Linked DNA regions of Homo sapiens: regions 2, 3, 4, 5, 6 and 7 are each linked to region 1. The links are contacts of gene promoters, found by promoter capture Hi-C in blood cells and fetal thymus (Javierre and others, 2016). All regions are on one chromosome and are shown on one strand. Each heading gives the region's core, a stretch centred on a gene start or on the middle of the fragment in contact. The rest is flanking DNA. Distances are from core to core; before and after follow the strand shown. Region 1 holds the start of SRSF11 (serine and arginine rich splicing factor 11). Region 2 holds the start of ATG4C (autophagy related 4C cysteine peptidase). Region 3 overlaps ITGB3BP (integrin subunit beta 3 binding protein). Region 4 holds the start of PGM1 (phosphoglucomutase 1). Region 5 overlaps MSH4 (mutS homolog 4). Region 6 overlaps ACADM (acyl-CoA dehydrogenase medium chain). Region 7 overlaps JAK1 (Janus kinase 1).

What was found. The method cuts DNA at HindIII sites, captures the fragments that hold promoters and counts their contacts. A CHiCAGO score of 5 or more calls a contact.
Region 2: a fragment that was not itself captured here is called in contact with the fragment with the promoter of SRSF11 in region 1 in 2 of 17 cell types (total CD4 T cells and non-activated CD4 T cells); the score reaches 8.5 in total CD4 T cells.
Region 3: a fragment that was not itself captured here is called in contact with the fragment with the promoter of SRSF11 in region 1 in 1 of 17 cell types (naive B cells); the score reaches 5.3 in naive B cells.
Region 4: a contact is called between the fragment with the promoter of PGM1 here and the fragment with the promoter of SRSF11 in region 1, in 2 of 17 cell types (total CD4 T cells and total CD8 T cells). The highest score is 7.5, in total CD4 T cells.
Region 5: a fragment that was not itself captured here is called in contact with the fragment with the promoter of SRSF11 in region 1 in 1 of 17 cell types (total CD4 T cells); the score reaches 5.3 in total CD4 T cells.
Region 6: a fragment that was not itself captured here is called in contact with the fragment with the promoter of SRSF11 in region 1 in 1 of 17 cell types (total CD8 T cells); the score reaches 5.1 in total CD8 T cells.
Region 7: a fragment that was not itself captured here is called in contact with the fragment with the promoter of SRSF11 in region 1 in 1 of 17 cell types (total CD4 T cells); the score reaches 5.1 in total CD4 T cells.

The regions. Positions count from the first base shown.
Region 1 is chr1:70,219,519-70,223,071 of GRCh38, reverse strand. SRSF11 (serine and arginine rich splicing factor 11) reads right to left here and starts at 1,692. Exons shown (of 12, transcript NM_001350605.2): 1 at 1,233-1,692. The coding sequence starts at 1,435. RefSeq lists a silencer at 1,308-1,357 and an enhancer at 1,253-1,798. The HindIII fragment of the contact is 2,724 bases long and covers 1-2,646 here.
Region 2 is chr1:62,783,898-62,787,450 of GRCh38, reverse strand. It overlaps ATG4C (autophagy related 4C cysteine peptidase), which reads right to left and starts at 3,319. Exons shown (of 11, transcript NM_032852.4): 1 at 3,178-3,319. RefSeq lists a silencer at 2,839-3,133 and enhancers at 3,109-3,288, 3,409-3,468. The HindIII fragment of the contact is 826 bases long and covers 1,328-2,153 here.
Region 3 is chr1:63,515,278-63,518,830 of GRCh38, reverse strand. All of the region lies in intron 1 of ITGB3BP (integrin subunit beta 3 binding protein), which reads left to right. It overlaps LOC102724319 (a long non-coding RNA gene), which reads right to left. Exons shown (of 3, transcript XR_426701.4): 3 at 1,037-1,075. Among named protein-coding and RNA genes, the nearest start is that of ITGB3BP, 6.2 kb to the left of the region's middle. The HindIII fragment of the contact is 5,782 bases long and covers 1-3,553 here.
Region 4 is chr1:63,591,108-63,594,660 of GRCh38, reverse strand. It overlaps PGM1 (phosphoglucomutase 1), which reads right to left and starts at 1,250. Exons shown (of 11, transcript NM_002633.3): 1 at 927-1,250. The coding sequence starts at 1,172. RefSeq lists enhancers at 214-273, 974-1,263 and a silencer at 634-933. The HindIII fragment of the contact is 4,618 bases long and covers 1-3,553 here.
Region 5 is chr1:75,799,555-75,803,107 of GRCh38, reverse strand. All of the region lies in intron 1 of MSH4 (mutS homolog 4), which reads right to left. Among named protein-coding and RNA genes, the nearest start is that of MSH4, 4.4 kb to the right of the region's middle. The HindIII fragment of the contact is 1,671 bases long and covers 774-2,444 here.
Region 6 is chr1:75,730,017-75,733,569 of GRCh38, reverse strand. It overlaps ACADM (acyl-CoA dehydrogenase medium chain), which reads right to left. Exons shown (of 12, transcript NM_000016.6): 3 at 829-926; 4 at 648-717; 5 at 1-42. Among named protein-coding and RNA genes, the nearest start is that of ACADM, 7.1 kb to the right of the region's middle. The HindIII fragment of the contact is 1,211 bases long and covers 645-1,855 here.
Region 7 is chr1:64,872,739-64,876,291 of GRCh38, reverse strand. It overlaps JAK1 (Janus kinase 1), which reads left to right. Exons shown (of 25, transcript NM_002227.4): 5 at 2,769-2,922. Among named protein-coding and RNA genes, the nearest start is that of JAK1, 92 kb to the left of the region's middle. The HindIII fragment of the contact is 4,131 bases long and covers 1-3,553 here.

The sequences.
Region 1 (3,553 bases), core at 443-2,942:
CTTTCATTACCAAATCAAGTATCTGTCAAAATAACAGGAATAAAGATTTACGTGTTTGTTCCCAGAACTCCACGTCATGCAAACTAAGTAAATCCTCTCTCCACATGTACATTTCCCTAAAAATTAGAAACATACCAATTTGAAAACACCAATAATCTTGTGAAAGTATTTTAAGTGGAAAGTGATGAAATATGCTAATACTTAACAAATATCTCATTATGATAAACTTTTGTCAATTATTTTATTGAGCAGAAAGTTAATGGTTACACGTACCATAACAGTAGATTCTTAGAGGATTCCAATTTCCTGTTTAGTATTTAAGTGACATCATAAAATTCTCAATATATGATATTTACTGATAATGACATTTGAATTGTCACTTCTCCACCAATAAGTCTTCCAAAAAGCACAAGACTATTATTATTATTCCAATTGTCTGTTTTAGTAGTACACTTTATCTTACTTCTTAGCTTCTTTGAACTATTTTTTCTTTACAATTCATCCACTTAATATTCTTGCGATAGAAATAATTTTCAAAATAAAAGTGAGACAAAAAGGATAAAAAGTCATACACTCTAATTCAAATTTCAACATTTATAAAAATCCTTCTCAAGAACAACTGTGAAATATCACAAATCTGTATATTATTCAAACAAAGGAAAATCTCTGGTTTATAACCCGTTTTTTGACATTATACAAATTAAGTAATCAGGCTCACACTAAACTAAGCGTCTGTCAAAAAGAATATGATCTTTGAATTATATTGCTGGGCCAGAACCACATAACAGCAATAACAATAAGTGAACAACCTACAAAGTTTAACACCAAATTAACACAGGCATGAATAATTTTGTTACCTTTCTTCCAAGAACGCAAAGAACAAATACTCAGTTTTTTAAAAAAGGGATTTAACCTATATACGACGTACAGACTGCGGTTAGTCTTGCGTTAAGTCCCCAAAGCCAAACGACCACGTTGGCACAATTTAAGGCGGAAAAAAAAAATTTCCCGAGAATAACAGCCAGTGTTTCCTAATTCCAAAAAGCCCTGGCCCTGCCTCTCTGCATTTTTTTGTAGGCCTGGAACACAACCGTCTTAAGTAAATCCACCAGCCACCAGCCACTCAAGCAGCCTGGCCCGGGGAAGCAGCGACAGGGGCCTAAGGAAATTGTGTGTGTTAGGCCCAGGCTGAGGCGGCGTTAGCAGGAACAGTGATGGTGGACGATACTCACTCCGGCGGGAAGAGGCGCAGTTCGTCGATCTTGCCTAGGAAACCGAAGAGAGTCCGCATCTGCTCAGAGCTAGCGCTCGGGGAGACATTAGTCACCTGGATTACCTCGGTGCCGCCGCCTCCGCCGCCACCACCACCTCCGCCACCGGGCCCGCCGCTGGGGCCCGGACCTGCAGTGCTGGGGACGACGGTAGTGTTGCTCATGGCGCTGCTCGGGTTCTCGCTCCTGCTTTAACACATCAAACACACAACAAACAGTGAGAAGGAGGGGGAAGAGGAACCGGATTGCGGGAGAGAGGAGGGTGTCCGATGCTACAGCCTCTGCTACTGCTGCCGATGCCGCCGCCGCCGCCGCCGTTTCTCCGCCCCGCCGCACGCCGCGGGGGAGGGGATGAGAGCGCGCGAGCTCGAGACCACGAGAAAACAAACGGCCGCCCCACCTCGCCTCCAACCACGACACTAGCGGGCCCGAGCTCCCACAATGCTTTGCGGCGCAGGGCGCGTCAGCGTCGGCTCCACCCCGCGCAGGCCCAGCAGCCGTCGCCTGCAGCCCGAGAAATGAGAGGCACCGGGGTCTAGAGAAAGGTGTTATCCACCTTCGTCTCTCGTTTTATTCTTCTTTTTCTTCTCTCTTTTTTTTTTGGAAGAGCGAAGAGGCACGTATAAACTTTTTTTTTAAAAAAAGCATTCATCCTCCTGCAAAAGTCACTTCAGCAACTCTTCTTATTAAATACTGCTCACGATGTCTTTATATACTGATAATCATCTACAGAGCTATCCGATTACTAATGATATTTAAACCCAAGCTAAGATGCCACCCCACCACCACCAGTATAAAATGTCCCGAAATTTTCAATGTACATGAATTTTGGTAACATTAAATCTGTAACTAATTTGTTTTGTCACTAAAACTTTCAGAAAAGATATATTTTAATATTACACTTATTAATAAGCGTTTTGTACATTCATTCACAATGGATGACTTTTTTTTTTGAGACAGAGTCGCCCTGTCGCCCAGGCTGGAGTGCAGTGGCACCATCTTGGCTCGCTGCAACCTCCACTTCCCCTGTTCAAGCCATTCTCCTACCTAGGCCTCGGGAGTAGCTGGGATTACAGGCGCCTGCCACGACGCCAGGCTAAGTTTTGTATTTTTAGTAGACATGGGGTTTCACCATGTTGGCCAGGCTGGTCTCCAACTCCTGACCTCTGGTGATCCACCCGCCTTGGCCTCCCAAAGTTCTGGGATTACAGGCGCGTGAGCCACTGCACCCAGCCAATTCCACAATAGCTGACTTTGGAAACACAGTTTATAGTACTTAAATATATTCAAGTATATATTTCTAAAGAAAATACTGCAATTTCTCAAGAAAAACTTGTTTCACATACATATTCTTGCTTAAAATAATTTTGAAGCTTTTGACTATTAAAAAAATCCTTGCTTTTGTTTTCAACCTCATCTGAACTATTCTCTCAACTGCATCCAGTGTGTAGTCCAGTGACTTGTAGTGCCCCAAACATGACAAAAACCATAATGTCTCTGTGCCGATACACAAGTTATTAATAACATCACTCATCTTATCTGTCATCTTCTGTAGAGCATTCCTTCCCTCACTGCTATGACTTCTGCAAGCTGTTAGGGCTTCCTCTTTTCTGCTAAGTAACAGAAGATACATGTATTTATTATTGACATGTATCACTCAAAGTTGTGAGCTTCCTGGGTCAGTCCAGAACCTGGCACAATGTCTGTCACACAGTCAGTCCCAATGAATGTGCTGGACACACGCACAAATATACCTTAATGACAATGGCATTTAAGACAGTTCACTAAATAATTCACTTGACCTTGAATGTTTTTAGAGGTAAAAGTTTTAGATGTTTTGGAGGTAAAAACAAACAAACAAACTTGAAGCCTTACAGAGTATCTACATTAGTGAATACCTCTTGGCACAATGCAGTCAAGATGCAATATGTGAGAGATTAGAGCACAAGGTTATTGAGATTTGGGTGTAGAGCCAACTGGCTAAGTGACTTTCACTAGTGCTTATACAGAAAATGGATGGGTTGACTGAATGTGAGCCTCAGCAAAATTACAAATTATGGCCTTCATAGAAATCAACTAACATTAGCTAGAGCCAAGACTTTTCAGAATTTTAAAGAAAAGCATATAGCTGTCCCTCAGTATCTGTGGGGGATTGGTTCCAGGACCCTCCCACAAATACCAGAACCAGAGGATGCTCAAATCCCCTATGTAAAATGGTGTTGTGTAATAAAGCATTTGATCTGTATCCATGGGTTCCATGTATGTGGATTCAACCAACCTGG
Region 2 (3,553 bases), core at 491-2,990, 7.4 Mb after region 1:
TGAAGTTAGAATTTAACCAGATGCCAGTTTACTACCAAATCTCAAGTGAAAATAAAGATGGCATGTAACTGCATTATTCAGTTACCTATTCATATACATGGTTTAATATATTACAGATAGATTCAAAACAGAGACCAACATATTTCCAGATGCTTTCATGTAGAACCCCACCCCTGCTCAATCAAGAAAAAATGATACCAAAAAAACCTATTTTAGGCATAGTATTACTCAAATATACAAAACTACAACAATGACACAAAAGGGTAAAAATAACTAAGAAATTAACCTTAAACACTGCTACCACAACAAAAAATACTAATAAACAAAGCATGTTTCCCAAACCTGGTCCTCTTTCGATGTTCTCTACCTCGGTGAAGGGTGCAACAATCCTTCCAGTTATATAAGCCAAAAACCTAAGATTAGCCCATGATATCTTCCTCTCCCTCACCTTCCATATCTAATCCATCGCCTAGTTCCACCTCCTGAACACCTCTGGAATCCATCTTACCACCACCACCTTGTCCAAAATACCATCTCTCAATTGGGCCACTCCAACAATCTTCTAACTGGCCTCTCCCCATCCCCACTCTTATCCCCTCTGTAATCAGTTCTTCCTCTGTGTAACATCAAGTCCTTTTTTAATAGCATTTACCACAGTTGTAACTTTAAATTTCTTTGACTATTTGATTTATGTCTGCCTCCTCTGTTAGTAAATTCTATGAGGGTAAACACCGTATTTACTCACTACTATACCACTGTGGCCTAGAAGAGTGTCTAGTTAATAAATAAATGCTAAATGATTGAATGCATGTCAAATATTACAATTTTACTTATATATAGTCCAAAAAATAAAAATAAAGTGCTTTATAAGGCTCACCAATTATTCTATATCACAGATTTTCACTTGTTTTTTTTTTTTTTGAGACAGGGTCCTAATTTCTACCTACCAATCCCTAACCACTATTTAAATTCCACATTAGATCTCATCTTCATGAAACATTCCCTAGTTATCTCTCTTCTCACCTTTAACATTCTAAAACACTCCCGTAAAATCTAATACATATTGACTATATTTTCTGCTTCTTGAAGGGAAAGTTTACATCTCATACATTCTGCTAGAGTATAAGCTCCCTAAGAGCAGGGACTTTTCTTGTTCACTCTATATCCCCAGCACCTTGAAGAGTGTCTGGTATGAATAGCTGCTCAGTAAGCATATGTTGATTTAACGCTCTTTATATATTTCAGGATAGAGCACAGATCCTTGCAGCTGTTGTACAGTGGGAAGAGTCGAAAAGAACTGAATTAATTTCCTTAAATTCTTCAAGCTTCAGTTTTTTCATCTGTTAAATGTAAATAATACTCAATAGCTTAGTTGGAATAACTGCGCTAATGCTTTAAAAGTATCTATGCAGAGCTGAGGACAAGAGGATACTCTTACAAACAAATGTTTTGGTGATTTTGTGACAATAGTTAAATAGTAAGTAGTCACTAAATTCCTACTAAATGAATAAAATCTCAGGAAAAATATTAAAAGATTGAGTAATGGCTACCGTATCATTTTTTTCAATAAAAAATTATATGAGTAAATTTATTCTGAAATATATTTCGCCCCAAATCTTAAGCATGGCTGAAACCATTTCAGCATTTTGTGCATTAATTAGGAATAATCCCAATTTAACATTGTACCAGTATTAATATTTATATTTTACTGACATGTATAGATCATACTTGATAGCTTAAAAAAGAATGATAATCTTAGTATAAGAACCTCTTTAGTGCAATAATTGGAATAGAAAACGAGCTGCAAACTCATTTGAGTTACGTGGTTCCCCAGAAAGCCAGAAAATTTCTGCCTTTTTATAAAACATTAGTGAACAGAATACGATGCTGTTCACCAGAACCATCAAAACATCTAGAAATACTTCATAACCAATCACCATAAATACATTTTTCCAAATACTTGAATCCTATTTTAAAGAAAAAGAGCATTAATTAAATGGCTTTTAATGACTTTTTGCTAAATTATACAATTCTTTAGATGGGCCACTTTTTGACATGTGGTTCTAAAAATTTTATAGCGAATGAACTGGTAATTCAATATAGCCTCAGATTATTGGACTAAATAGAAACTCTTCCTGTTCAAAGAAGAAGCTTTATCAATTTGAAACTCAGAAAATACATAGACTTTACCTTTCAAAGCCTTTCCACTCCCTCTGGGTATTCTCAATGGCTCATAATCTAATTACAAGTCACAAGCAAGCAAGAAGATCATTCCCTTGTCTCTTTCTGCCATCAACTGACACAAAATCATTGCCAAAAACCCACCGGGGACATATGGTCCGAGCAGGAAAACATAAGAAAACTCCTAAGTAATTCGGATATAAAAAGATGTAAGACGAGGTATTCTTCTGTAACTATAGGGTAGCAGTGAGCCCCATGTGGGTAAATAACCAATACAAAACGAAAAGGTAAGCCAAAGAAATCACAAGAAATATAAACTCAATAAGCAGTGATGCTGAGTTGACCGCTGAAGGTTCTCATATATGAATATAGTCATCATATGTAAGAATTTATTCTACACCTCCAACCTCAAAAGCCCTTAGATGTGGGTAGGGTTGGGAGAGTTCACGGTGAGCGGGAACCAAATGAAGTGAATGAACGTTAATATTTAGATGGAAAGGCATTAATATATGCAAGGCAGTGTGTTATGGCTTGAAGCAGTAACAAACACCAAAAAGGGAGAAAGAGGCTAGGAATGAGAACAGAGAGACAGTGGGGATCCAGTTATTATTATTATTTCCCTTTTTTTATTTTTTAAACGAGGAAAAACAGGGCCGACAGAGCACTGGCATGAGGAGGGGTCAAATGGATGCGATAGATCAGGGGAAAGAGTCTTGCCTGCAACATCTAAGAAAACCACAAGGAAAGGAGGAACAGCTGCCCACAGTTAGGCTTACGGTTTATCTCTGCAACCCAGGACAAAGCGAGGAAGAGTTAGAAGACAAATGACACTAGAAAGGAGAGACAAGGAAGGCGCCAAAACCCTCAGAGAACCCAGATGGTTGGCCACAGGGTCTTCACTGAAGGCGGACCCCCGCAAGAAACCCAGTCATTCGGGGACCAGAGACGCTAAGTCCCAAACTTCTTGACTCCTTTAGCCTCAAGCCGATCCCTCACCGAAAGAGAAGGACTGGAGAACTGTAAAAATGTGCAGGAGCCACCAACCCGGCAAATGCTCCAGCTCTAGCAGCAGCCGCCACAAAACCAGCCCGCACACACGCAGACGTTCCGACCTCAGCGCCGCAGCTACAGGTACTTTGAGCACCCCGGCCACCGTAGTAAGAGGAACCGCCTCCGCGTCAAATCCAACAGATCAGCCACTTCCGGGATACGAAAGCCTTGCGATTGGCAGTAGCGATAGCAGCGGCGTAAAGGCCTCTGCTATGCTTACTTTATCCATCCCTTTTTCCCACCTGTTCGCCACCCCAAGCCGCTAATCCACCAATGCAGCAAGCGCAGAACCAAGAGAAAGTATCCGTCTGTGAGCATTGTC
Region 3 (3,553 bases), core at 387-2,886, 6.7 Mb after region 1:
ATTTAAAAATAATGTTAATTCAAAAGAAGGCAGGTAAAAAAGAACAAAGGAACAAAAACAGATGGGACAAATAGAAAACAACTATCTAAATGGTAGCCCCAACCAGATAATTACAAGTTTAAGTGCAGTAAAGACATCAGTGAAAAAGGTAGAGAATATTATAAGGCTAGATTTTTTTTTAAAGCAAGTCCTAACTCTTTACTGTCTATAAGCAACAAAGTTGAAAGTTAAAAAAAAAAAAGAAAGAAAAGAAAGGGAAAGGTAGATATAACAGTCTAACAGGAGAGAAACCAAATGATCAATATCCAGAATGAAAGGGTAAATTGTACTTAGATGAAAGAGAACATAAACTATCAATATCCAAAATGAAAGAGCAGAATACCACTAAAGATGCTATAGATATTGAAAGAGGTAATATCATTAAAGCCTTTATTCCAGTAAACTTGACAACTTATACAAAATTGACAAATTCCTTGAAAAATACAACTTAGCATGATGGCATAAGATGATACAGAAAATCTGCATAATTAAGGAAATAGAATTTGTTACTAAGAATCTTCCCACAAAGACCCAGACGATTTCATTGGTTAATTGTACAGAGAACATACCCATTCGTGAGAAAATAAAACCCTCAGCAAACTAGGAATAGGAGGCAACTTCTCATTTCTTTGAAAAACCTATAGATAATATATTTAGTATCGAAAACTTTTTTAAGATTAGGAAAAAGGCAAGAACGTGCCCTCTCACCACTTCTATTCAAAAAAGCACACACAGAAAAACACCCATAGTGTTAAAAAGGAAAAAGTGGGGCCAGGCCCAGTGGCTCATGCCGGTAATCCCATCACTTTGGGAGGCTGAGACAGGCAGATTGCTTGAGCCCAGTAGTTCAAGATTAGCCTGGGCAATATGGCAAAACGCTGTCTCTACGAAAAAATATGAAAATTAACAAGGTGTGACGTTACGTGCCTGTAGTCCCAGCTACTTGGGAGGCTGAGGCAGGAGGATCACTTGAGCCGAGGAAGTCAAGGCTGCAGTGAGCTGTGATTGTGTCACTTGCATTCCAGCCTGGATGACCCTGTCTCAAGACAAACAAAAACAACAACAACAAAAAAGGAAAAAGTAAAATTAATGATTCAACAATGACATCATGTATGAAGAAAATCCTAAAAAATCTATAAAACAATTTTCAGAACAATTTAGCAAGGATGTAGGATGCAAAATCAGTGTACAAAGATCAATATATTTCTATATTTCAGGAATAAACACCTGGAAATTGAAGTTTAAGATTTTTCATTTATAATTACATAAAAACATATAATAATTTAGCATAAGACATGCAAGACCTCTACAGTGAAAATTACAAAATGTTCCTTAGAGAAATTAAAGATGAAGATAAATGAGAGTATTTTTATTTATTTTTTATTTATTTTTATTTATTTTTATTTTTTTATTATTATACTTTAAGTTTTAGGGTACATGTGCACAATGTGCAGGTTAGTTACATATATATACATGTGCCATGCTGGTGAGAGTATTTTTAAGTGATAAATGTGGTATTATTAAAATGTTAGTTCTCACCAATGTTTAGATTTAATGCAATCCCTGTCATAATCCTAACAAACATTTCTTTTTAAGTTTTGCTCTTTTTTTATTTCTACTGTTTAAAATGGATCTTTTTTAAAAAAAGTTAAGTGGATGAAAACTTGTATAATAGTATTTGGTATTATCTTTATCTTTTCTGTTTTATATTTCATTTTTCATGTAATCTAATTTTCCTTCTTTGTACTTTCTTTTTTTGAGTATGATCATTTATACCTAACTTATTTGTTTTTATTTTTTATAGACTCAGGGTGTATATGTGCAGATTTGTTACAAGGATATATTGCATAATGGTGAGGTTTGAGCTCGTAGGTGCCCATCACACAAATAGTGAACATTGTACCCGAAAGATAATTTTTCAACCCTCACCTTCCTCCCATACTTCCTCCTTTTGAAGTCTCAGTGTCTATTATTTCCCTCTGTATGTTCATATGTACCCATTGTTTAGCTCCCACTAATAGATGAGAACATGTGGTATTTGCTTTTCTTTTTTTTTCTTTTTTCTTTTTTTTTTTTTTTCATGAAACAAGGTCTTACTCTGTCACCCAGGCTGGACTGCAGTGGCATGAACATGGCTCACTGCAACCTTCACCTCCTGGGCTCAAGTGATCCTCCTGCCTCAGCCTTCCAAGTAGCTGGGACTACAGGTGTACACCACCACACTGGCCTAATTTTTAATTTTTTTGTAAAGACAGAGTCTCATTGTGTTGCCCATGTTGATCTCAAACAATCCTCATGCCTTAGCCTCCTAAAATGCTGAGATCACAGGTGTGAGCACTGCCACACCCAGTTGATTTTCTTTGCTTTCCTTTCCTCTTTTTTCTCTTGTTTTCTTTCTTTTCTTTCCTTTTCCCTTCCCCCCCCCTTCTCCCCCACCTTCCCCCGCTCCGCTTCCCTTCCCCTCCCCTCTCCTCTTTTTTTTTTTTTTTTTTTTTGAGACATGGTCTTGCTCTGTCACCCAGGCTAGAGTGCAGTGGTGCAGTTTGCTCACCACAACCTCTGCCTCCCAGGCTCACTCTGGACTCAAGCAATCTGCTCAGCTCAGCCTCCCAAAGTGTTGGGATTACAGATGTGAGCCACCATGCCTGGCCTAATTTTCTGCTTCTGAGTTATTCCAGTTAAGATAATGATTTCCAGCTCTATTCATGTTGTTGCAGAACAACACGGTATCATTCTTTTTTATGGCTGCATAGTGTTCCATGGTGTATATATACCACATTTCTTTATCCAGTCATCCATTGATGGACACAAGATGATTCCATGACTTTGCTGTTGTGAATAGTGCTACAATAAATGTACAAGTACATTTGTCTTTTTGATATAATGATTTATTTTCCTTTGATAGATACCCAGTAGTGTGGTGGTTGCTGGGTAGTTCTTTTTTTTTTTTTTTTTTTTTTTTTTTTAAGTTGGAGTCTTGCTCTGTTGTCCAGACTGGAGTGCAGTGGTGCAATCTTGGCTCACTGCAACCTCCGCCTCCCGAGTTCAAGTGATTCTCCTGTCTCAGCCTCCTGAGTAGCTGGGACTACAAGCATGCACCACCATGCCTGGCTAATTTTTGTATTTTTAGTAGAGATGGGGTTTCACCATATTGATCAGGCTGGTCTTGAACTCCTGACCTTGTAATCTGCCCACCTCAGCCTCCCAAAGTCCTGGGATTACAGGCGTGAACCATCGTGCCTGGCGTTGAATGGTAGTTCTATTTTTAGTTCTTCAAGCAAACGTTTTTTAGAAATTGAAAACTGATTTCAAAATTTGTATGGAAAGGCAAGTGACTTGCAGTAGCCAAAACAATTTTGAAAAAAAAGAATGAAGTTGGAGTATGTACACTAACTAGACATGGCATAAAGTGTTGGTAATGAACTCAATGTGGTTTGGGCATATAGAGAAATAGGTAAATAGAATAGAATAGAAAGTCCAGAAATAGACCCACAAAGGTACCAAAGCAGCTCAG
Region 4 (3,553 bases), core at 1-2,500, 6.6 Mb after region 1:
CCCACATTTCCATATATCAGATTTACTGAAAAACTTTTTTTTTTTAATTTCCCCTATCCGAGTGGACCCGCCCAATCAAGTCAGTTAACTTTCCTTGGCCGGGGGCGGAACCAAGGTGTTGCGGTAATTTCCTGGCCTGCCACGACTGCTTGCTTGCGTAAGGGCGTCTTTGGGTATGTTGCCATTCTAATGAAAATTCAGCTCCAGCCCCGTCGGTGGAACAGATCCCGGGCACCACTGGGCAGAGACTAGATGTTTCAAACGCCTGCCCCCCAGCAAGCAGGCCGCGCAAAGGGCAGGAGTTCGGAACCAAGGCAAACTAGGGGGCGGGGAGAAAAGATTGGCACCCGCCTGCTGAGATCTGCCAACCTGACGCCCCAGGGGGATGGGTGCTCTCGCCACCCTTGCCCCACAGTGTCGGGCTCCGAGCCAGCGGGAAGCGCCAGTCCTAGCCGAGAATAGCAGAGGAGCGGGCGGGATGCGAGGGGGCTCTGGGCGAGGCGGCGGCAGTCTAACCTTTCCTGCTTAAGGCGACAGCACTCTGCGCCGTAATCGTATCTTCCAAGGCTGCAAGGTTAGGGCAAATGTCAGACGCCTCGGGAGGGGCGGGGGACGGGGAGAGGGAAGGCAGCGGCTAGAGACGGAGAGTCGGGCGTGACCTTGGGAGGCTCCGCGCCCGCACCTCCCGGCGCCCCGGGAGTCAGGCGAGCAGGTCTGCCGGGTCCCGTGGCCACTTTCCCCAGCCCGGCGACCTCCGTCGGGCCTCCAGGCCAGAAGAGCGAGCGCGAAGGAGAGGGAGGAGCGGGAGGTGGAAACCGAGGCGGCAGCGCGCGGAAGCGGCCGGCCCCGAGCGAGGGAGGGCGCCGCGGGCCGCACGTCGCACACGCGCCAGGGTGCACAGCGGCGCGGGGCCGCGCATCCCTTACCCCGTTGGCGGCAGCGATGCGAGCGATGAGCTGGATGGCCTCCTTCATGTAGAACCGGCCGTCCCCGCCCACCACCAGCGTGGCCTCCTGCCGCTGCGCCGGCTCCACGGTGGAGATGATACTCTGGATGAAGTTCTCCGCGTAGTTGGCGCTGCTCTGGAACACCTTCACCCGCTTCCGCAGCCCGCTCGTGCCCGGCTTCTGGTCCTGGTACGCCTGGGTCTTAACTGTCACGATCTTCACCATGGTGGCGACTTGCTGCCGGGGGTCAGAGCGGCGGACTTGGCTGGCGGAGGGGCGGCCGGCTGAGGCTGCAGCTGCTCTGGGGTGAGGGCACGGCGGGTGGGGGCTACGCCGCACTCTAGGCCGGCGTTTGGCCCTCCTCCTTAAAGGGACAGGGGACAGGGCCCTCCCTCCGCGCCAGCCCACCTCCTGGCAGGTCCGGCGGGAGGGGAAAGGGGAGCGCCGGTCTCTAGGCCTCCTGTGAAATGGGTGGAGCCTTACTGATTTACTCTCCCCTTCGGAATCCTATCCACTGTAAAAAGAGGCCCGCAACTCCTCCTCTAAGTGTTGGGGCAGAGGTTGGGGTAGGAACCCGGTCATAGGGCAAGGACGTGAGGCAGGGTGGAAAAAAGTACAGGGTAGAATGATTTCCAGTGGTTTGGCGAATGCATCGTGTGTAAATAGCTTTCTGGAAACCTGTTGGGAGGGTCAGAAGTGCCAGCCCCAGCTCGATTTCATGAGTCGTAATTCTTTCTATTTCTCCCTAAATGTGAGGGCATTTGAGTTCCGTAAAGGAGTCGACTCCAAATGTTTCCTGCTGCACCACACACTTGACTACCATTGGTGACGGTGACTTAGCTATGACTTGCTGAGTGTAGCGTTTCTAAACCTTACTAAACTCTGGGTTTTATTTTTCCCCTTTTTATGCTTACAAAACTGAAATTCAAAGAATAAAATGCCTTGTCTCATTGCCACACAGCTAAGTCCATGCGGGAGGCCAATTCAGGTGGTCTGGCTCCAAAACCAGGGCTCTTCCCATGATTTGCCCGCTGTGACACCAGGTTGGCAACTAGGAAATGTACAAGCAGGACTTGACAAATGTAGGAGCAAATATATGGTAAGGATAAGTATGAACACCATCAAAATTAGCCAGTTACTCATGTAATAGAAATAAAGTGAGGAGATCAACAAACAAGGACTGACATGGCTGGAAAAGTTTCACGGGGGATAGCAAGGTCAACCAAGGGGATTTGATTATTAAGTAGGAATCTTCAGTCTTTCTTGCTTTTCGGTTTAGTATCTCCCTTAATTTGATGAGAGTGATTGTCTCCTCTGTTCAAGAAACCTGTCATTTTGGTAAAGTGGCAAAAAACTTGGCTTTACAAGGTGTGTGCTCTTGGGAAAGTTAGTTAATGTCCGTGGGCATCAATTTCCTTACTGTAAAATAAACATATCACCTACTTTGGAATATTTTTGCAAGATTTAATGGGGTTTTGTATGTCAGAAATTCTCAGTCATGGATACACAGTAGAATCCTACTGTGACCCATGCTCACAGTAGAATTACTTGAGGTGGTTTCTAAATGACCCAGTCCAAACAAATTCAATCATAATCAGCTGTTAGAAGTAAATCATCTAGCCTGGTGCCTGAAACATAGAGGCCTTCAAAAATATTAGCTCCCCTTCCCCAATTCCAAAACCAGAGCATATCATTCACCTGTGAATTATATTCTTTTGGTAGTTAATTGGTATGTCTTGATCAAGCAGGGAGGCGAACAGACCCATAAGAGTGCAGACTCTCACAAACCAAGTGTTGATATACATGCTCATATAGTACATGCTATGTAGATACAGTGTGTTGATGTAGTCACTATAGATGAGTTTCGGTGGCAAATATTATGTGAAAACGGAACCCTGGACTGCTAGTAATGAGTTCTAATATTTGCACAGGAGTTTACAGAGCAGTGTAATCTTGTGAATTAAATAATATAATCAAGCCCATTTTATAGACGAGAGAATTGAGGATTGGATGGTGAATGTAATCAAGGTTATCTAACTCCACAAAATGAAAATATAGCATAGATTCACTGAGCCTTCAAAATACCTACCTTAGAGTTGTATGGTTTAGATAGAGAATATACAGCTCCTACCACAGTGCTAATAAGTAAGTCATCAATAAATGATAACTTGTAAAGTCACGGGCCCAAATTCAGATCTCATGCCCTTTCTATATTCTTCAGTATCTTTGGAAATATGATGGAGCTTTTCATTTAAGAGGAATTGATCTATACTTCTCTCACCCCAGAAGTTGTAACAATTAGCTTTAACTGCATAACACACCAGTCTAAATCTGAGTGGCTTAAGACAACCCCCATTCATGATTATAGTTCATGATTCTATGAGTTAACTGGCAGTTCTGCTGTTCTGGACAGGGTTACTGTGGCCCCTTATACAGACCTAACATGATCCCCATGTTCCTTGCCTCCTGATAATCATGCCTTTATGCAATCCCCTTGTATTACAGATTGAGTATCCCTTATCCGAAATGTTTGGTACCAGAAATGTTTCAGATTTTAGATTGTTCCGGATTTTGGAATGTTTGCATTACAATGGTTGTGCATCCCA
Region 5 (3,553 bases), core at 360-2,859, 5.6 Mb before region 1:
TTGAAATTTAATCCCCAGTGAAGTGTGGCAGGACAGAGGTGGGGCCTTTAAGAGGTGATGGGGCATGAGGGCTCTGCCTTCATGAATGAATTAATCCATTCATGATTTAATAGGTTAATGGGTTATCACGAGAGTAGGACTGGTGGTTTTATAAGAAGAGGATGAGAGACCTGAGCTACCATGCTCAGCTCCCTCTCCATGTGATGCCCTGTACCACTACAGGACTCTACAGAGACTCCACCAGCACAAAGACCCTCACTAAATGTGCCTCCTTTGACCTTGGACTTCCCAGCCTCCAGACTTCCAAGAAATATGTTTTCTTTCTTGATAATCACCCAGTTTCAAGTATTCTTTTAAAAGCAACAGAATACAGACTAAGACATATGTTTCATTTGTATAATAATTATTAGACCTCTTTTAACCTTCTTCTGTTAATTTCTTCATTGAATTTCTCTCCCCTATGCAAATGGCATTTTAGACTCAATTGGCTTCAGTTCCTTATTTAGGTACTTATCTACTGATGTAAGCTATTACCTATTTTACAGGATTGTCATAAAATTTTTAAATAATGTACATAAACAACCTAGCATAGCCTCTTGGCACATAGAAGTTCTAAAAAAATTTTAAAATGTTTGGGCTCTGTTCACCTATTCTCTTTGATTTCCACAACTCTCTATCTTGAATTCTCTTTAAACCACTTTTAGTTTCCTTTGCCATCTCCTTTTTCCTCTGCTTCTTAACTGTTGGCCTCCAGGGCTTCATACTTTTAAGCTTTCCCTCACAAATCAACATTATGCATCTCCAGGCATCTCATCTCTCCTCTTTGTTTCTATTAACATCTATTTTCTGACAACTCTCAAGCCTTCGTATATAGCTGTAACGACTCCTTAAACTGTAAACCAGGGGTTGCTAAACTTTTAATTTTTCCTTTTTGTCTGTATGTGAGACTCTCGTTCTGTAGCTTAGGCTGGAATTCAGTGGTGTGATCTTGGCTAAATGCAGCCTTGAACTCCTGGGCTCAAGCAATCCTCCTACCTCACCCTCCCGAGTAGCTGGGACTATAGGCTCATGCCACCATGCCAGGCTAATTTTTTGTATTTTTGTAGAGATGGGGTTTTGCCATGTTGCCCAGGCTGGTCTCAAACTCCTGGGCTCAAGTGATCTTCCCATCTCAGCCTCCCAAAATGCTGGGATTATAATCGGGAGCCACCATGCCCAGTCTATTTTACTGTCTTATAAAGACAAGGTCTCTCTTTGTCGCCCAGACTGGAGTGCAGTAGTGTGATCACAGCTCACTGCAGCCTCAAGCTCATGGGCTCAAGTAACCTCCTGCTTCAGCCTCTTGAGTAACTATGGACTATAGGTGCACCTCACCACACACAGCTAATTTTTTTTTTATAGAGACAGGGTCTTGCTACATTGCCCAGGCTGATCTCAAACACCTGGCCTCAAGCAATCCTCCCACTTCAGCCTCCCAAAGCACTGAGATTACAAGCATAAGCCACCATGCCTCAGCATAAACTTTTTTTTTTTTTTTTTGAGATGGAGTTTCACTCTTGTTGCCCAGGCTAGAGTGCAATGGCGCAATCTCAGCTCACTGCAGCCTCTGCCTCCCAGGTTCAAGCAATCCTCCTGCCTCAGCCTCCCAAGCAGCTGGCATTATAGGCATGCCCACCACACCTGGCTATTTTTTTTTTGTATTTTTAATAGAGACAGGGTTTTGTCATGTTGGCCAGACTGGTCATGAACTCCTGGCCTCAGGTGATCTGCCCACCTCAGCCTCCCAAAGTGCTGGGATTATAGGCATGAGCCATCATGCCCAGCCCATAAACTTTTAAATAAAGGACCAGATGGCAAATATTTTAGGCTTTTGTGGGCCATATAATCACTGTCACAATTACTCAGCTCTGACACTATCATAGAAAAGCAGTCATAGATAATACATAAATAAATGAGAATGGCTATGTTTCAATTAAAAATGGCTTTATTTCTACATATTGAATTCTAAATTTCATATAATTTTAATATCACAAAATATTCTTGATTCTTTAATCCTTCAAAAGTGCAAAAACCGTTCTCAGCTCTATACCTGCATTGTTCAATAAAGCAGCATATGTGAGTATTTAACTAAATCAAAATTAAATACAATTTAAATTCTGTTCCTCAGTCACACTAGCAACATTTTCAAATGCTCAAAAGCCACATACGGCTACTAGTTACCACATCGGACAGCATAAGTATGAAACGTTTCTATTATCACAGAATATTCTATCAGACAATGTAGCTCCAGGTCACTATATCTATCTCTTGGGCATAAACCTTTAGGTATCTTCCCAGCATTCTAAATGTCCAAAAGTGAACTCTATCTTTCCCTCAAAATTAATTCTTTATTACCAGTATGGTTAATTGTACCAGCTTGTCCCTTGTCACTCAAGTCATAAGCTTAGGAGACATTCTCAATTCTTCCTTCATCAACCCTAACACTCAGTGACTGAGTGCTAGAATTCTTTTTTTTTAACATCACTAAAATTTAAATCCCTCTCTACTCCTCCCAGCCCATTTTAAGCCTGTATCTTCTTTGGTCCTTGTGCAAGTTTCCTACTTCTTCTTCTCCTTGCTTCCAGTATTACACCTCTCTAATCTATTCTTCGAATCATCACCAATAATCTTTCTGAAAAGCAAATCTGATCAGTATCTCTCTTTCTTACAATTCCTATGTGTCTCCCCATACTCACCATAGGGTAAAATATAACTTCATTATATGGGTTCCAGCAGGAATCAATGATATACTCAAACTGGGATAATTTGATAAAGAGAATATTTACAAAGGTGTGGACAGGGTGTAGGGGTGCTATCATAAAGACGTGTGTAGAACCAGCATAAAATGTGCTCCATTAGCATTTCTAGGCTTTAGGGAGCTAAGGAAGAGAGTGGTTGCCAGAAACTGGAGATGCGGAAACTGGAGATGGAGAGGGCTGTTTCTTGTTCTCAGACTACTTTTAGACTATATACCCTTTCTTGAAACTCATTCACTTGTCTTAATTCTCCTCCTACTTCCTTGACCTCTATTTTGCTATATAGTCTTCATATTCTCTGCTGTGGTCCCAACATACTGGTAACTTTCAAATCCATATTTCCCTCAAGTTTCTCTCTTCTTAGCTCTAGTTTCCTATATTCAATTATCTTAATATAAATATATGGATATCCCACAGGCTTTTCACACTCAGCATGTCCATAACAGAGCTCATCATCTTCCCTCTAAAATTTGCTTTGCCTACAAAATTCCCAGAATCAGAAAATACTACTACCATCTATCCAGTCACCAAAACCAGAGACCTGGTGTTGAATATGGGGGGTCTCTGGGTTAAATTTGTCTCCCAGATCTAATTCTCACAACTATATCTACATTCAAGTTTATCTACCTAGATCACTCTCCTGCTCTAGCCAAGCAAAATTATTAGCAGTTTTACATGATTCTTCTGTGCCTTTGCACGTGTTTTTCTCAAGAATGCGCTCCAGCTGTTTCCCTTTGGCTGGCATTCTTCTTCCTACT
Region 6 (3,553 bases), core at 1-2,500, 5.5 Mb before region 1:
CACTAATTAAACAAGCATCAAAAGTTCCAAGTCCAAGACCTCCTACAGTATCAAAATGTTTCAACACATTGTAATATGTAGTACATCACAATAGAAATAAAGGTAAACTATTTTAATTGCTTTCAATATGACCAAAATTTGTTTTAAAAGGAAATTTGCAATATAATATCTACATGTGTTCTGGCTGGCACAATAAGAAATTATACTTTCTTAAAGCTCTAAAATTTTCAAAAAATTATTTTACTATTTGTAATTTGAACCTGTATTCCTGTTCTAACTTGATTTTGTTAAAACTCAATTCAACTCTAAAACTGGGTCTGAGGAAAAGAATCATGGTTCACAAAAAAGACTCAATAAAATGTAATATAGAAGATAGGAATAAAACACAACAAATTGACCAACTCTAGAAACGGAAGTTACCAAGGTTTAGGTGCAAGTTAAGGTTGGAACCAGTTAGAAGAAGGAAAAACGCATCTAGGTATAGAGTGCAAGCTTCCAAAAGTGGGCAAACACTGTAGTCTGAGCAGGAAGACAAAGGTAGAAAGTCATTTAATGGCAAGAAATATTTGAAAAAAATGACTGAGTAGAGTTCCACAATTTTTCTTACTCATATGCATTCCAGTATTAAAAATATAAAGAAAGCTTACCACAGTTCTCTGGAATGTGTGTGTTCATTAAACCAAGTTCCCAGGCTCTTCTAATTAGGGGGACTGGATACTAGAAGAAAAAGAACTGAGTTAAAATATATTTTGAAATCCAGATAGTTTGATTACATAATCTTGTAAAAAATGTAAAAGATTTTTCCCTCTTTAAAATGTATATACCTACTTCACCAGTTTTATCATATTCTGCAGCCACTGGGATGATTTCCTCTCTGGCAAATTTACGAGCAGTAGCTTGAAATTCTTTCTGCTGTTCGGTGAACTCTAAGGGAAAATTATTTAGAAAAGTTAAAACTGGATAACAAGGAAAAATGTCCTATGAAGTCAGTATGTAGAAATGTGTATTTATTGTGGGGACTTAAATCCTTGATTATCAGAAACTCAGACTACAGTGCATTTTTTGACTAATCAAGAGTTCACTACACAATATAAATAAACCTATGTCAATACAAATGCTAAAGGAAATAGGTAAGATTTTTAACTTTTACAAATGAGTAATAGATATTAACCTGTAGAGCTCAAGTGAGTTTTTCTTTTCCAATTGGTGATATAAAAAACGTTTAACTTATTATTAGTTCCTAAGCCAATTTATCAAATGTTTGCTAACACTGAAGTGAAACTAATATACAAGACATCTCCCTGACGACAAGAATCAATCTAACGAAATAGATGAAACACACTCAGTGACATAAAGCAATAAAACTTATTTCAAAGTGTCATATAAGAATATCAATATCATAATTTTGCTTTTTTTTTTTGAGACAGTCTCATTTTGTCACTCAGGCTGGAGTGCAGTGGTGCAATTACGACTCACTGTAGCCTCGACCTCCTGGCCTTAAATGATCTTCCCACCACAGCTTCTCAACTAGCTGGGATCACAGGCACATGCCACCATATCTGGCTAATTTTTGTAATTTTTGTAGATACAGGGTTTTGCCATGTTGCCCAAATGGGTCTAGAACTCCTGGGCTCAAATGATTCTCCCATCTTGGCCTCCCAAAGTGCTGGGAGCCACCTCACCCTATCTATTTCATTTTTTTTGTTTTCACAGAGACAGGGTCTCACTATGATGCCAGGCTGGTCTTGAACTCGTGGCCTCAAGCAATCCTCCTGCCGTGGTCTCCTAAAGTGCTGGGATTACAAGCATGAGACACCATGCCTAGGCTTACAGCTCCTTTAAACTCAGACAAGCTTATAAATTAGCACAAAGCAACTGGTAAAAGTGGTAGAAAGGTTTTTCAAAAGATAATAACATAAAATCCTGCTGCAATGCTAATAAATGGTGTCCAACAATTTGTTTACATAAAATAAGGGATTGTTTTAAAATTAATGAAATTAGTATGGTGGCTTGATTGAGGAGAGGAGTCAATTGCTAACTGCATCTTTTCAAATCCATGGTATCCTTGTGTTTTAATGTGGTTGCATCTAACGTCAAAGATTAGGTAAAATTTAAGAGATAATAGGGTATTTCAAGCAAGAAAAATGAGAGCAAATGCACAGAGGAATGTTTAAGACTACAGTAATCATTTGTATGGGGATGTGAGAAACAATACATAAAAGCTGAATTCTGGTGCTGAATTGAAGAGCATAAGATCAAATCTCTTTTTTTTTTTTTTTTTTTTTTTTTTTGAGACGGAGTCTCGCTCTGTCGCCCAGACTGGAGTGCAGTGGCGCAATCTAGGCTCACTGCAAGCTCCGCCTCCCGGGTTCACGCCATTCTCCTGTCTCAGCCTCCTGAGCAGCTGGGACTACAGGTGCCTGCCACCGCGCCCGGCTAATTTTTTTTTTTGTATTTTTAGTAGAGACGGGGTTTCACCAGGATCTCGATCTTCTGACCTCGTGATCCGCCCACCTCGGCCTCCCAAAGTGCTGGGATTACAGGCCCGAGCCACTGCGCCCAGCCAAATCTCTCTTTTTATTGATAAACTAATGCAGAGTAAGGAAATTCTAGTATCAGTCTCACAATGAATTAGCAGAAGTATACTTAAGAATTTCAGTCCAGTGTTCTCTCTATCACAGCTTTACTTCTAAGATTGGTGCCAGTTGATAGCAATCTTGCAGGTAGATAGAGGGTAGAGAAAGTCTGGGCACGGTAGCTCATGCCTATAATTCTAGAATTTTGGGAGGCTGAGGCAGGTGAACCATTTGAGGCCAGGAGTTTGGGGCCAGCCTGAGCAATATAGCAAGATCCTGTCTCAACAAAACATTTAAAAATTTAAAAAATCAGCTAGGTGTGGTTGACATGGACCTATTGTCCTAACTGCTCAGGAAGCTGAGGCGAGAGAATCCATGGAGCCCCAGAGGTCAAGGTTGCATCCAGCTTGGGTGACAGAGTGAAACCCTGTCTCTTAAAAAAAAAAAAAAGGAAAAATGACAAGTATGTATTATGTATTATTTATTGAGAAACTACTTTGATCCAGTCACTAAGTGCTAGGGGCTTTAAATACAGCATATAATTTAATCTTCATAGAAATTCTGTGTTATAGATATTATTTCCACTTTACAGATAAAGAACCAGATGCAACTGGTTCAAGGAATAGACCCGTATTGAACTTCACAATCTCCCTCCCAAACAATTATATCTAACTCATCCTCTGTCACTCAGTGAACCACCATAGATTTCTCCTGCAAGTCTCTTACTACTGAGAGAGAAATTTAAAGTGACAAGCAATCATACCAAATTAATGCTAATTATCTCAGTATGATCCACTACCCTGGCTGGGCATGCTGGCTAATGCCCATAATCCCACTTTGGGAGGACAAGACGGGTGGATCACTTGAGGCCAGGAGTTCGAGACCAGCGTTGCCAACATGGCGAAACCTCATATCTACTAATAATATAAAAATTAGCCAGGTATGGTGGCCCACACCTGTAATCTCAGCTACTTGGG
Region 7 (3,553 bases), core at 500-2,999, 5.3 Mb after region 1:
CCTCATCTCTACCAGATCCAAGGACTGTTTCTCACAGAGACTCAGTAGGATGTGGAAGAAGAAGGCCGTGGCTCCGTTGGCTCAGGGAACATCTGCCTTTTCCCCTCCTGCCACCTCCCCTGGCAGTGGAGGGTGACCTGTCTCTCTCCTTGGCACCTCATCAGAGATTCTTCTCTCTTGGACAACACCCTCCATCCTCGGAACCCTTTTCTTTCCTTATCTCGGGAAACCTTCCATATTGTACCTACTTCTCATTCTCTTATTACTGCCTTCCTCCGCCATCAAACAGCATTTACCCCTCCTGTTGGCCATTCTGTCAGAACCCCTCTTTGAACCTCTGTAGCTGGTTCACTCCTTCCTTCCTGCTTGTCCCAGGGAGAGGATCGTGGCTAAGTTCTCCTGGGCACGTGTTCTGTTCTACCCTTGAAGAGCAGTGCCAGGCCTGGGTACAGCATGAGTGGCAGCCTCCCTGCCAGCTGATAGCCCTAGCTTTCCACTGTCACCAGCGGAGGGTAAGGGAACAGTCCAGCAGCTTCAGAGGCCTGACGTGGCTCATGCTGCCCGTGGCTCTGCAGATGTGTGATTCTTTCTGTGTGTGAGAGAGACACCAAAGCCCACAGTCAAATTCTCAGTCACTTTCGTAAATTACAAGGAAGATGGGCTGTATAGAATCATTGAAGATTATAAAAATGTTGGTTTTTACCTTTAAAGTAACTTCTTTGTTTATCCTTTCCATGTTAATTGCTACTCCCTGAGTTTATTCATCTTTTGTTTATCTATCAAGCATGTGTTCAGTAGCTGTTAGGTACCAGGCACTGGGATTCAGTGGTGAGCAGGACAGCTGCAGCCTTTGCTTCCGTGCACAGCTCACGGCATTGCTCGAATGATGCCACAGGCATCTGCTTCTCTCTGCCGCTTCCGTTTCTATCTTCCATGGGGCTTCCCTCCCAGGAGAGCGTGCCTCATATGTGCCTGGCTTTCGTTCTTTGCTCTGCCTGCTTTGCATGGTCCAGGCTCTGTAGCCTGGCATTTAATTATTCTGTTCCAGCTTCCCTTCCTTGGTGCTTTTTCCCCTCCTGCCACCTCCCCTGGCAATGGAGGGCGACCTGTCTCCTCGGCACCTCGCCAGAGACTGTCATATGTCCAAGGACAACTTATCCTTTAAGCACAGTGCCTAGAGCACACACTTGTTAGGGGCCCATAAAATGTCTAATTTCACTTAAAATCAGAAAACATAGTTGAGAAATATAACTTGTAATATTTTTTATGGAGGAAGGGAAAAGTGTTTAGGGCCTATGGAAGTCACAGTGTAGTCCTGCTTGTGATACGTGCCCCATTGTGTGTTGCTGGATAGTTGCTGCTGGACCTGACCGGTTGCTCCCAGAGACAGGAACTCACAGAGTACGAGAAACATGCCTGAGAGCCCTCCACATCTCAGGCCCTAACTCAGGGCCTGGCTTGTCTTAGGCTCTGCAAACATAGCACAGTGACAGTTGTTGAAGTGTAGCAGCAGCTTTTTGCAGGGAAAGAGGGAGTTGTATTTATTGCTTCTCCATGACATGGTTCTTTTCTCATTAGTTCATGGGCAAGTCAAGGGAAAGAGACCTAGGTAGCAGCTGAGTCTGTAGCCTACAGATGGCCTGGGCTGGCTTGGCTCAGTCACTTCCCTTAGTCACTTCCACACATTCCAGAAATTGTGTTTTTCTTACAGGTGACAGAGGAAGTTATATATGGAAGGTAGGGTTAGGGGCACCAACCCCCTGTGCAATTGACAATCCATGCATAACTTTGACCCTCCAAAACATAGCTAATAATAATAGCCCACTGTTGACTGGAAGCCTTACCAATAACATAAACAGACTAGTAACCTGTATATATCTTATGTATTCATGATGTACCTTTTTCTGAAATTAAAAAAAAAAAATTTCTGTGCTACACAGTTCGTCAGTTTTTTCAAACTGTTGCAAATCTCCAAAAAAATTTTCAATATACTTATTGAAAAAAAAATCTGTGTATGAATGGACTTCTGTGGTTCAAACCCATGCTGTTCAAGGGTCAACTGTAGTAGTTAAGAGAACAGGCTTTTGTAGTTTTAGGTCACCTAGCCTCTTGGAATCTCAGTTTTCCTCATCTGTAAAATGAATGAAACCTTCCTTGTAGAGTTGCTGTGAAGATTAAATAACATAATATATATAAAGTGCTTGTTAACTCGTTTCATGATGCCTGTAGTGGTGTTTGGGTAGCTCTCTTTTAAAATCCTATTCATCATGTAAGATACACCATCAGTTGAATAGCAGCAATCTGGGAAGTAGGAAACACTGCCACGTAAGCTGTATATCTTGATTGCGTGATGAAACTAAGTTGCAGGAATGTTAAAATGTCAATCAAATTGGTCTTGGATTCGAGGTAGAATGGGCTTAGCAGTGTGGCTGATGGTAAGCGTGCAGGGAGCTGTGGTCAGCATGGAGTTCCAGTCAGCAGGTGTTTCCCTATTCTGGAAGCATAGTGAGAAGTCAGAGGAGCTGTCTTTGTGATCTTCGGGAAGTCACTTTAGCTCCCTGAGTCATAGAGGAGGTGCTGATGGGACACTTCTCACGCAGCGCTAGTAAGAAGGAAAGAGATGGTGAGGGGCTACAAGGGGCAGGGTTGTCTGCCTGCTTCTCAGGGCACTTCAGCCTCCGGCACTGACCACTGTTGGTGAGCCAGGACGCCCTGCCCACATCTGGGTCCCCTTTGCCACAATTGGCATTCATTTTCCTGCCTTCCAGGTTCTATTTCACCAATTGGCATGGAACCAACGACAATGAGCAGTCAGTGTGGCGTCATTCTCCAAAGAAGCAGAAAAATGGCTACGAGAAAAAAAAGATTCCAGATGCAACCCCTCTCCTTGATGCCAGCTCACTGGAGTATCTGTTTGCTCAGGTAGGAAGTTTGGGCCCAGGAGAAGCTGGAGTTTGTGGGATGGGAGAGGCATTGTAGAGCTCAGACCCCCTGCTGCAGCTGAACTTGGTGGTGCTAGAGTGCTTTAAGGCCTGTTCTGGGTAAGTTCTTGCCACACCTGGACTTGCCCCAAGTGAGGAGAAAAAAGGCAGCATTTCAGCTTTCCAAGAGGCTGGTTATCCAGCTTGTGGGCTTTGGGGCTTCCTTTCTTTCCTATTCCTTTCCTTTTCCCCACCTCCTACCATTTTATTTTTCATCCGTATTAATAGCCTTATGTGCAGAGGTCAGAGGGAAGCTCTGCTTGTTAGAAGATGTAATTCAACAGGGCTGAAGAAGGCACTTCTCAGCAGCCGTAGTAATGTCTGGGGAGGAAGGAGATGGCCACTCTGTCACTGGTGGTAGGATAGAAAGATTAGACGCTAGAAAAAAAACAAAAGAGAAGGTAGAATCACCTGAAATTACATTTACTCTGAGATTGCTAAGATTTTTAGTAGTATGCTTCCTGATTTTAACATGCAAATTTAGATACTGTATAGATTTTGAAAATATTTTATGGTTCATTTTGTTTTGTAAACTGCTTTTTTATTCATCTGATTTTTTTTATTGTTTGTCC